Linked DNA regions of Homo sapiens: all the other regions are linked to region 3. The links are contacts of gene promoters, found by promoter capture Hi-C in blood cells and fetal thymus (Javierre and others, 2016). All regions are on one chromosome and are shown on one strand. The core of a region is centred on a gene start or on the middle of the fragment in contact, and the rest is flanking DNA. Distances in the headings are between cores, read along the strand shown.

Region 1 (2,700 bases), core at 33-2,532, 240 kb before region 3:
ATGAGTGATTCATTTTAATTTCTTTTTTCTTGTTTGTATTTGAAAATCCCGCATAATGTTCAAATATACAATTAAAATTTTAAAAAATTATTTTTGTTTGAGGGGTCCTCAGAGAAATGGCTGATAAAAGTGATGGGACATGATAGGTACAAGGTCAACCTGGATCATCTTTCTATATCAAAAAGTAAAAGTACTTACAAAAAAAGGGGGAGAGGGAGCAAGTCACAAAGACACAGGAGTCACTGGTGTTCAAACTGTACCAGATAATGGTTAGCTGGAGCTGCTTCAAGCTGGAGGACTTTTTTTAACAGAAATTTCTTATCTAAATTCCCTCCCTGTTGATGGCTCTTGCCTGATCTAGAATTTGGCTGCAAAGTGATGATTTTCCACCTCCAGAAACTCTCCCACATTTACCAGTAGATGCTCAGCACCTCACTGTAAGTAAGAGCCTTCTATTATTTGTTGATCTATTTCTTTTATCACCAATTTATTAAGGCATAGACTTATGAATTTCTTCCTCCTACCCTTAACAGTCTATAATTATAGCTTACTGGGAGAAGAAGCCTCAGGAGCCAATACTAGCCAGAATTCTTAAACTGTAATTGGTGAATTGCTGGACACTCAGTGTAAACTAGCATTGAAGGAAAAACTCCCACACTTTCATGAGTTTTATCTCCTGGAACCTTACCAGGTTCTCACAGTGAAGATCAGAGATCAGAGAAAAATACTCTCCCTGCTTTGGGCAGGAGGGAAGGAAAAATAACCATTCTGAAATAGCCCTGAGCACATGTCCTCCATAATAGGAAACTACTTTACCAGAGCCTTATCTGGCTTGGAGAAAGGGCAATTAGTCAACTACAGACCCCTCTAGCCTTACTGCCTCACACAGGAGAATAAAAGAGGCTAAGAAACTCTTGTAAATATTACATTTTAGAGACACAGGCCCAATTAAAAATATATATATATTTAATAATAAGATTATAGAATGATTCCTCTCCTCAATATCTTACCACTACATTAACAGGGCTCCAGTTTTATACAAGGCACAGATTCTATTTGAGAAAGAATTTATAGGGAAACCCCAAAACATCAGGAGAAACAAAAATAAGGACACTAGAGGAAAGCCTCTGATACCTACAGCTACAGCAAACATTAAACATCTAACTCCTAGCCACATAAAACCTCACACTAAAGACCTATTCAGCTCAGTTTCTATTGCCTGATACATCATGTCTAGCTTTCAGCAAAAAATTTAAAGACAAGCTAAAAGGCAAAGAAAAAAACAACAACAACCACAGTTTGAAGAGACAAAACAAGCATCAGAACCAGGCTCTGATATGGCAGAGATTTTGGAAGTATCAGAGTAGGATAGTAAAGCAACTATGATTAAAGGCTCTAATGGAAAAAGTGCACAATATGCAAGAACAGATGAGTAATGTAAATGGAGAGATAGAAACTTAGAAAGAACCAAAAGGAATTGCTAGAAATAAAAACCACTGTAACAGAAATGAAGAATGCCTTTGATGGGCTCATCAGTAGACTACACACTGGGGAGGAAAGAATCAGTCAGCTTGGGGGTATGCCAACAGAAACTTTCTCAAACTGAAGGTCAAAGAGAAAAAAGAATGGAAAAAAAACCTAACAAAATATCTAAGAACTGTGGGACAATTGCACAAGTGTAACTTAGGCATAATGGGACTACTAGAAGAAGAAAAAAGAGAGAAGGGAAAAGCAGCACTATTTGAACTAATAATGGCTGAGAACTGTCCAAAAGAATATTGCTAATGGCCAAAATGGTAATTTGAGATGAAAAAAGCTCTCTTTAAGAAAAAGTTAAGACTTCCAGTTTCCTGTCTGACATAAAAAAACTCCAAAGTTGTCAGTCCATCCTAACAATTAATAAATGGCTGAATACAATGAAAATCAACAACTTTTCTTAGATGCATAAGAAAACTAAGGTTAGAGGGAAAATTGCTGTCGCCAAAATTGAAAAGATAGATAAATACAGACAATGACAACTTAGCGAAGCAGAGACTCATGAGCAGAAATCTGCAAAGAATCAGTACCAGGGTAGGAAAACCTGAACTGTAACTGACAAATTGCTGGAGGCTCAGCGTGGACAACTCTTGAAATGTAAGCATTCCAGGGAGTCCCATAGGTGGGCGCATTCCCACACTTTTGTGAGTTTCACTTCTAGGAGCTCTACTAGATACAGTGAAAACTGAAGAAAAATCTCCTCCTCCTTACGGCAGCAGGAAAGGAAAAGTAGTGATTTTGAAATATGCCAGAGAATTCTGTTCTTTTTCTTTTTCTTTTTTTTTTTTGGAGACAGAGTCTCCTCGCTCTGTTGCCCAGGCTGGAGTGCAATGACATGATCTTGGCTCACTGCAGCTTCCGCCTTCCGGGTTCAAGCGATTCTCCTGCCTCAGCCTCCCGAGTACCTGTGATTACAGGCACCTGCCCCCATGCCCAGCTAATTTTTGTATTTTTAGTAGAGACAGGGTTTCACCATGTTGGCAGGCTGATCTCAAACTCCTGACCCAGTGATCCCCACTCCCTCAGCCTCTCAAAGTGCTGGGATTAAAGGCATGAACCACTGCGCCTGGCCAAATTCTGTTACTCTTAACAAGGACTGTCCACAAGGTAAATTATTTTCCCAGAGCCTAACCGATTGGGATTTCATTAGAGCTTAGTTAACCT
Region 2 (2,700 bases), core at 149-2,648, 200 kb before region 3:
TTTTTAGATATAATGCTATTGCACACTTAATAGACTACAGTTCAGTAAATGTAACTTTTTGAGACAAGGTTTCGCTCTGTTGCCCAGGCTGGAGTGCACTGGCATGATCTCAGTTCACTGCTGCCTTGACCTCCTGGGTTCAAGTGATCCTCCTACCTCAGCCTCCCTAGTAATTGGGACTACAGGCATGCGCCACCATGTCCAGCTAATTTTTGTATTTTTTTGTAGACATGGGGTTTCACCATGTTGCCCACGTTTGTCTCAAACTCCTGGGCTAAAGTGATCCTCTTGCCTTGGCCTCCCAAAGTGCTGGGATTACAGGCATGAGCCACCAGGCCCTGGACTGTAAACATAACTTCAATATGCACTAGGAAACAAAACAAAACAAACAAAAAATGTTGTGACTCATTTTATTGCAAGACTTGCTTTACTGTAGTGGTCTGGAACCAAACCTGCAATATCTCTGAGGTATGCCTATATACAGTCATTTTAAACATTTTAAAAATTTACTTAATTATATTTTATTTCAATGGGTTTTGGGAACAGGTCGTATTTGGTTACATGAATTAGTTCTTTAGTGGTGATTTCTGAAATTTTGGTGCATTCATTACCCAAGTAGCACTGTACCCAGTGTGTAGTATATTCCCTCACCCCCCTCCCACCATTTTCCCGAGTCCCCAAAGTACACTGTATCATTCTTACGCCTTTGGGTACTCATAGCTTAGCTCCCACTTATGAATGAGAACAAAAATGTTTGGTTTTCCATTCCTGAGTTACTTCACTTAGAGTATTAGTCTACAATTCCATCCAGGTTGTTGCAAATGCCATTACTTCATTCCTTTTTATGGCTGAGTAATATTCCATTGTGTGTGTGTGTACACTACATTTTCTTTATTCACTTGTTGATTGATGGGCATTTGGGCTGGTTCCATAGTTTTGCAATTGCAAATTGTGCTGCAATAAACAAGGGTGTGCAAGTATCTTTTTCGTATAATGACTTCTTTTCCCCTGGGTAGATACTTGTATAAAGTCATTTAGTCCTCAATTAATTCAGCTAATTTTACTGAACACCTAGTATGTACTGAGTGACTAGCCTCTTTCAAACTTCAGCCACAAAACCAGTCATCTTTCCCTGCTCCCTTATGGTTACACTGGAAGAAGTCTTTCTGTGTCCCCATAGGGCTGACACATTTCCCCACAGCTTGGGATCATATCTCCTTCCAAGTGACCTTACTTTACTGAGTATCTTTCTCAACTGCATCTTCCTCATCAGCAGGTAAGTCTGCTCAAGCTTCTCCTGCCTTCTGACTGCCCTTTCTCTATGCCTGCTTCCTCTTCCTTCCATAGCTAAATGACTTGAACAAGTTGGTGACATTTATTATCTCTATCTCCTCATCTTTCACACATTCCTGACCCATTGCAATCTGGCTTCTGCCCCATCATTTCACTAAAATTACTCTCAGAAGGCCACTGGACTACTGGTCTCTAGATCATATGAAAGCTTTTCATTGCTGACCTTGCAGAAGCAATCGCCACTTTTGATCACTCTCTCTTCCTTGAAACATTTTTGTTGTTGTTTTTTGAGATGGAGTCTCACTCCGTCTCCCAGGCTGGAGTGCGGTGGCACGATCTTGGCTCACTGCAACCTCCGCCTCCCAGGTTCAAGCGATTCTCCTGCCTCAGCCTCCCAAGTAGCTGGGATTACAGGTGGGCACCACCATATCAGGCTAATTTTTGTATTTTTAGTAAAGATGGGGTTTTGCCACGTTGGCCAGGTTGGTCTCGAACTCCTGACCTCAGGTGATCTGCCCGCCTCGGCCTCCTAAAGTGCTGGGATTATGGGTGTGAGCCACTGTGCCCGGCCAAACATTCTCTTTCTTAACTTTCATGACATCACATTCCGTTGGATTTCTGATTATATTTTCTCAGTTTACTTTAGAGATTCCTCTTCTTGTCATCCTTTAAATGTTGGTGTTTTCCAGAGTTCTAACAGAGGCTACCCTCTCTTATCTCACTCTAAGCAGTGTCCTTAGGCAATCTCATCTAGTCACGTTGCTTCAACTACATTACTTTGCTGATGGCTTGAAGCTGTATCTCCAGTCCAGAGCCTCTCCTTGTGCATCTAATTTGTATATATGTGACTGAAACCTTTTAGGGTATCTACCCAGTTCATACAATCTCCGATGTTTTAGAAATTGCCTCTACTTCCACCTAGAATGCAGCAGTGGTGGGCCTCCCAAAACCATGTCTGTACTATGTGACCCTTAATCCCCTCATTGTAATTGACCAGATACCAGCTCCAAGCTGGGTCAGTTAGATACCCAGTCCCGGAATTAGATTGAGACTAAGTCTATGCTCAAAATGAAACTTTTGTACACTACTGTTGGGAGTGTCAACTACACTTTGGAAAACTGGCAGTATCTCTAAATACACATATACCTAATGACCCAGAAATTCTACTCCTAAGTGTAAACCAAAATAATTAATTGCATATGTTCTTAAAAGACAAACAAAGTTTAGAGCTGCATTTTACATAATAAGCAAAAACTGGAAACCACACAAATCTTCATCATCAGTACAAATGATACGGCTCGGATGAGTGGAGAAACACCAGGGCTTTTTTGTTTTACCTTGAATTAGATGAGAAGACACAGACACACGTGGAGTGGTTTTAAGGAACAGAGAATTTAATAGGCGAGA
Region 3 (2,700 bases), core at 196-2,695:
TGTAATACTGATAGGTAAGGCTGATCCAAAGAATATTAAGGCTAAAGTATCACTCAACTTCTGATCCTCAGGACAAACGATACACTTCATGTTTGAAAAGCATCAGTTGTAAAACTTAGATGTTGATTAAACTAATTCATAAAGTCCAGCAGATTTTCATTAGGAAATTAGATAAAACAGGTCAATCATCTGGAGAGTACTAATGCAGTTTGGTTCTCGTACCAACACAGGACAGAGGTATTTTTCTAAATTCAGTCAATTACTTTCCAAGGTTCTCATCTGACATACTAAGAAGTCTGTAAGGAGAATTCCTCCACCCTTGGCCCCTATCCGCGAACATTCCAAATCTCAGCATTAGGGAATGCATATCCATCATTTTGCAGCCTACTAAAAGCCCACGACCTTAATATGAAAGCGGCTTTCGTGCTGCATTTGGCTGCTGCCTGTATGAAGGCCCTGCCTCAAAGCAGGGCCAACTCTGGCACGTTTTTTCATCTCTGAAAGTGGAGCTAGGAAAAACACCCAGATCTAAAGATGTTCGTTTAAATCCGTTTACATCTGCTCCCTTTCAAACACTACAAGCAAACTCCAAAAGCTTGAGCAGCAGCCGCAGCGGCAATGACAGTTCTTGAGGCCGAACTGGGTCAGGGTTACAGTTACACTTATATAGCATATTTACACCCTTTTGTCTACAAACTTGAGTGCAAACTTAAGTTTCCTCAAGGCAGCGTGTTCGCTGGGCCTCGGGAACCGAAGCAATTTTCCTGAGACAGGAAGGGCACAATCCACCCTGCTGGGTGGCTGCACCAGCCTTCTCCGGACCACGCACTCAGCGGCCTCGGCTTCTGGCCAGCTCTCGCAGCCAAGGGGTCGCTCGGGGCAACTCGCCCGCGTCCAGGCTAGGTAACTGGGTTTTACTACGTGGGCTCCCAGCTTTTCAGTCGCCCCTACTCGCCCGAGGCCGTTTCGGGCCTGGGGTCGCATTACATAAACAGCCACGGCCCCAGCTTTCCCAGGCCGGCCCCCGCCCCCACGCCAGGGGCGTCCCACCCCCGCGCGCCCCGCGCCGTGCCTTCCCTGCCCCCTACCCGCACCCAACCCGGACCCCGCGGCCTCCGCACCGCGCCCGCTCCCGTCCCTCGGGCCGGGCCTGGCCCCGAACGCCCTTCCCGGCCCGGCCCGCCCCGCCCCGATGTGGCCGTGCAGGCCGCCCAGCCGGTGCTAGGCCCCGCGCTCCGCCCGGGCCGCCCGCCTCACCGTTCTGCTGGTGCGGCGCCGGGCCCGCACCCGGGCCCGCGGGCGCTGCGGCTCCTGAGACGGCCGCTCCGCCGAACTTGGGCGGGATCCGGGCGCTGGCGGCCGGGTGAGAGGACCCGGCGGGGGCCGACATGACGGCGCTGGTGGCGACGGCGGCTCCGCTTCAGGGAGGTGGGCGGAGGGAAGGGAAGGCGGGGCCGGAGAGGAGAGAGGAAGAGGAAGGAACGCGCCTGGCGTCACTGAGGGTGTCACCCGGGACCGCGGCTCAGGTACCCAAGCTTCTCCGCGAGTCCAGCGCTGCCACTCGGCGGCCGCCGCGGGCGCGGGGATCCTGGGTCGCTCCGCCTTGACCCACGCGCCCCACGCCCCGGGACTTACACCTGGGGTCGCTCCCCGCACGCGCGGGCCTCGCGCCGGTGCCGCCGCAGCGCCCCCTGCAGGCCGGAGCCGAGCTGGCCCAGGCCTGAGTCTGGCCCGGGGTTCCGTGGCCCCAGTGCCGGCCCCGCGGCTGCTGCTCCGGCCCGGCCAGGTGCCTTCGTGTTGAGGCGAAAGGACTGGGCCTCAGTGGGTGAAGGGACCGGGTGGCCCGCTTCCACCTAGGGCAGAGGCTGGATCGGCCGCGGCGAGGCTGGGCCCAGCATTACTGGGAGGGGAACTTGAGAGCCGCGGGTTGATGTTCGGAGCTCAGGCGACGACTGACCACCCACCCTTCCTCGAAGAGGAACAATGGCTTGGGTTTGGTTTTTAATTTTTGATTCCCCCACCTCCCCTTTCTTGATTCCAAAGGAAATATAGCATTCAAGCGCCATGTCTGTTGGGAATATATAATTCCTTGGCAAAGAAAGAGGAAACATTTCTCTGATAAACACAAGAATCTCAGTAAGAATTGCATTATTGAGAACTTTTCCCACTGATAAAGTAGGGAAGAGGAAGGGGAAAATAGGGTAAGGGAATGCTGGAAGACAAACTTTAAACTTTATCTCCTTTTTTTTTTTTTTTTTTGTCGATTGTTGGTGCATCCTGTTGGTGTTCCGAGAAGTTGTGGCTCAGCTTGCTTTGTCTACATTAGTGGAATCTTTAAGTCTTTCTGGTCTGTCTCAGCATACTCACTGGCAGGCCCTAGACTACATTACCCAAGTCATTTTGCCGTCTTGGAATCCTGAGTATGTCATCACTCTGTATTGGAGATGAGATTGCTCAGAAACACTGAATTCAGAATGGGATCTAGCAAGATGGTATTTCTGGAGCAATAAGTCATTTACTGAATGATTATGCAAAGCATAAATTGCATTGTAGTCCTAGAATAATACAAAGCTTCCCTTTAGTTGTTGCCGTAAATTAATAACTGGCATTTTAATGCACTAAATGAATTTTAGTAGTTAGATTTATATCTTTGACTTCTAGGAATTTCAACTACATTAGAGTTCATATACACAAAAGGGG

Evidence for each region. Contacts are between HindIII fragments. The CHiCAGO score rates a contact against its expected background, and 5 or more counts as called.
Region 1: a fragment that was not itself captured here is called in contact with the fragment with the promoter of SEC24B in region 3 in 7 of 17 cell types (naive CD4 T cells, activated CD4 T cells, non-activated CD4 T cells and 4 more); the score reaches 9.4 in naive CD4 T cells.
Region 2: a contact is called between a fragment that was not itself captured here and the fragment with the promoter of SEC24B in region 3, in 3 of 17 cell types (naive CD4 T cells, naive CD8 T cells and activated CD4 T cells). The highest score is 5.9, in naive CD4 T cells.

The regions. Positions count from the first base shown.
Region 1 is chr4:109,670,344-109,673,043 of GRCh38, reverse strand. The region is part of intron 4 of MCUB (mitochondrial calcium uniporter dominant negative subunit beta); the gene reads right to left. It also overlaps a transcript of CASP6 not described here. Among named protein-coding and RNA genes, the nearest start is that of CASP6, 32 kb to the left of the region's middle. The HindIII fragment of the contact is 3,992 bases long and covers 1-2,700 here.
Region 2 is chr4:109,635,717-109,638,416 of GRCh38, reverse strand. The region is part of intron 1 of MCUB (mitochondrial calcium uniporter dominant negative subunit beta); the gene reads right to left. Among named protein-coding and RNA genes, the nearest start is that of CASP6, 66 kb to the left of the region's middle. The HindIII fragment of the contact is 210 bases long and covers 1,294-1,503 here.
Region 3 is chr4:109,432,560-109,435,259 of GRCh38, reverse strand. SEC24B (SEC24 homolog B, COPII component) reads right to left here and starts at 1,445. Exons shown (of 24, transcript NM_006323.5): 1 at 1,258-1,445. The coding sequence starts at 1,390. It overlaps SEC24B-AS1 (SEC24B antisense RNA 1), which reads left to right and starts at 1,443. Exons shown (of 3, transcript NR_039978.1): 1 at 1,443-1,526. RefSeq lists enhancers at 466-615, 692-1,551 and silencers at 433-727, 1,106-1,375, 1,426-1,815. The HindIII fragment of the contact is 940 bases long and covers 598-1,537 here.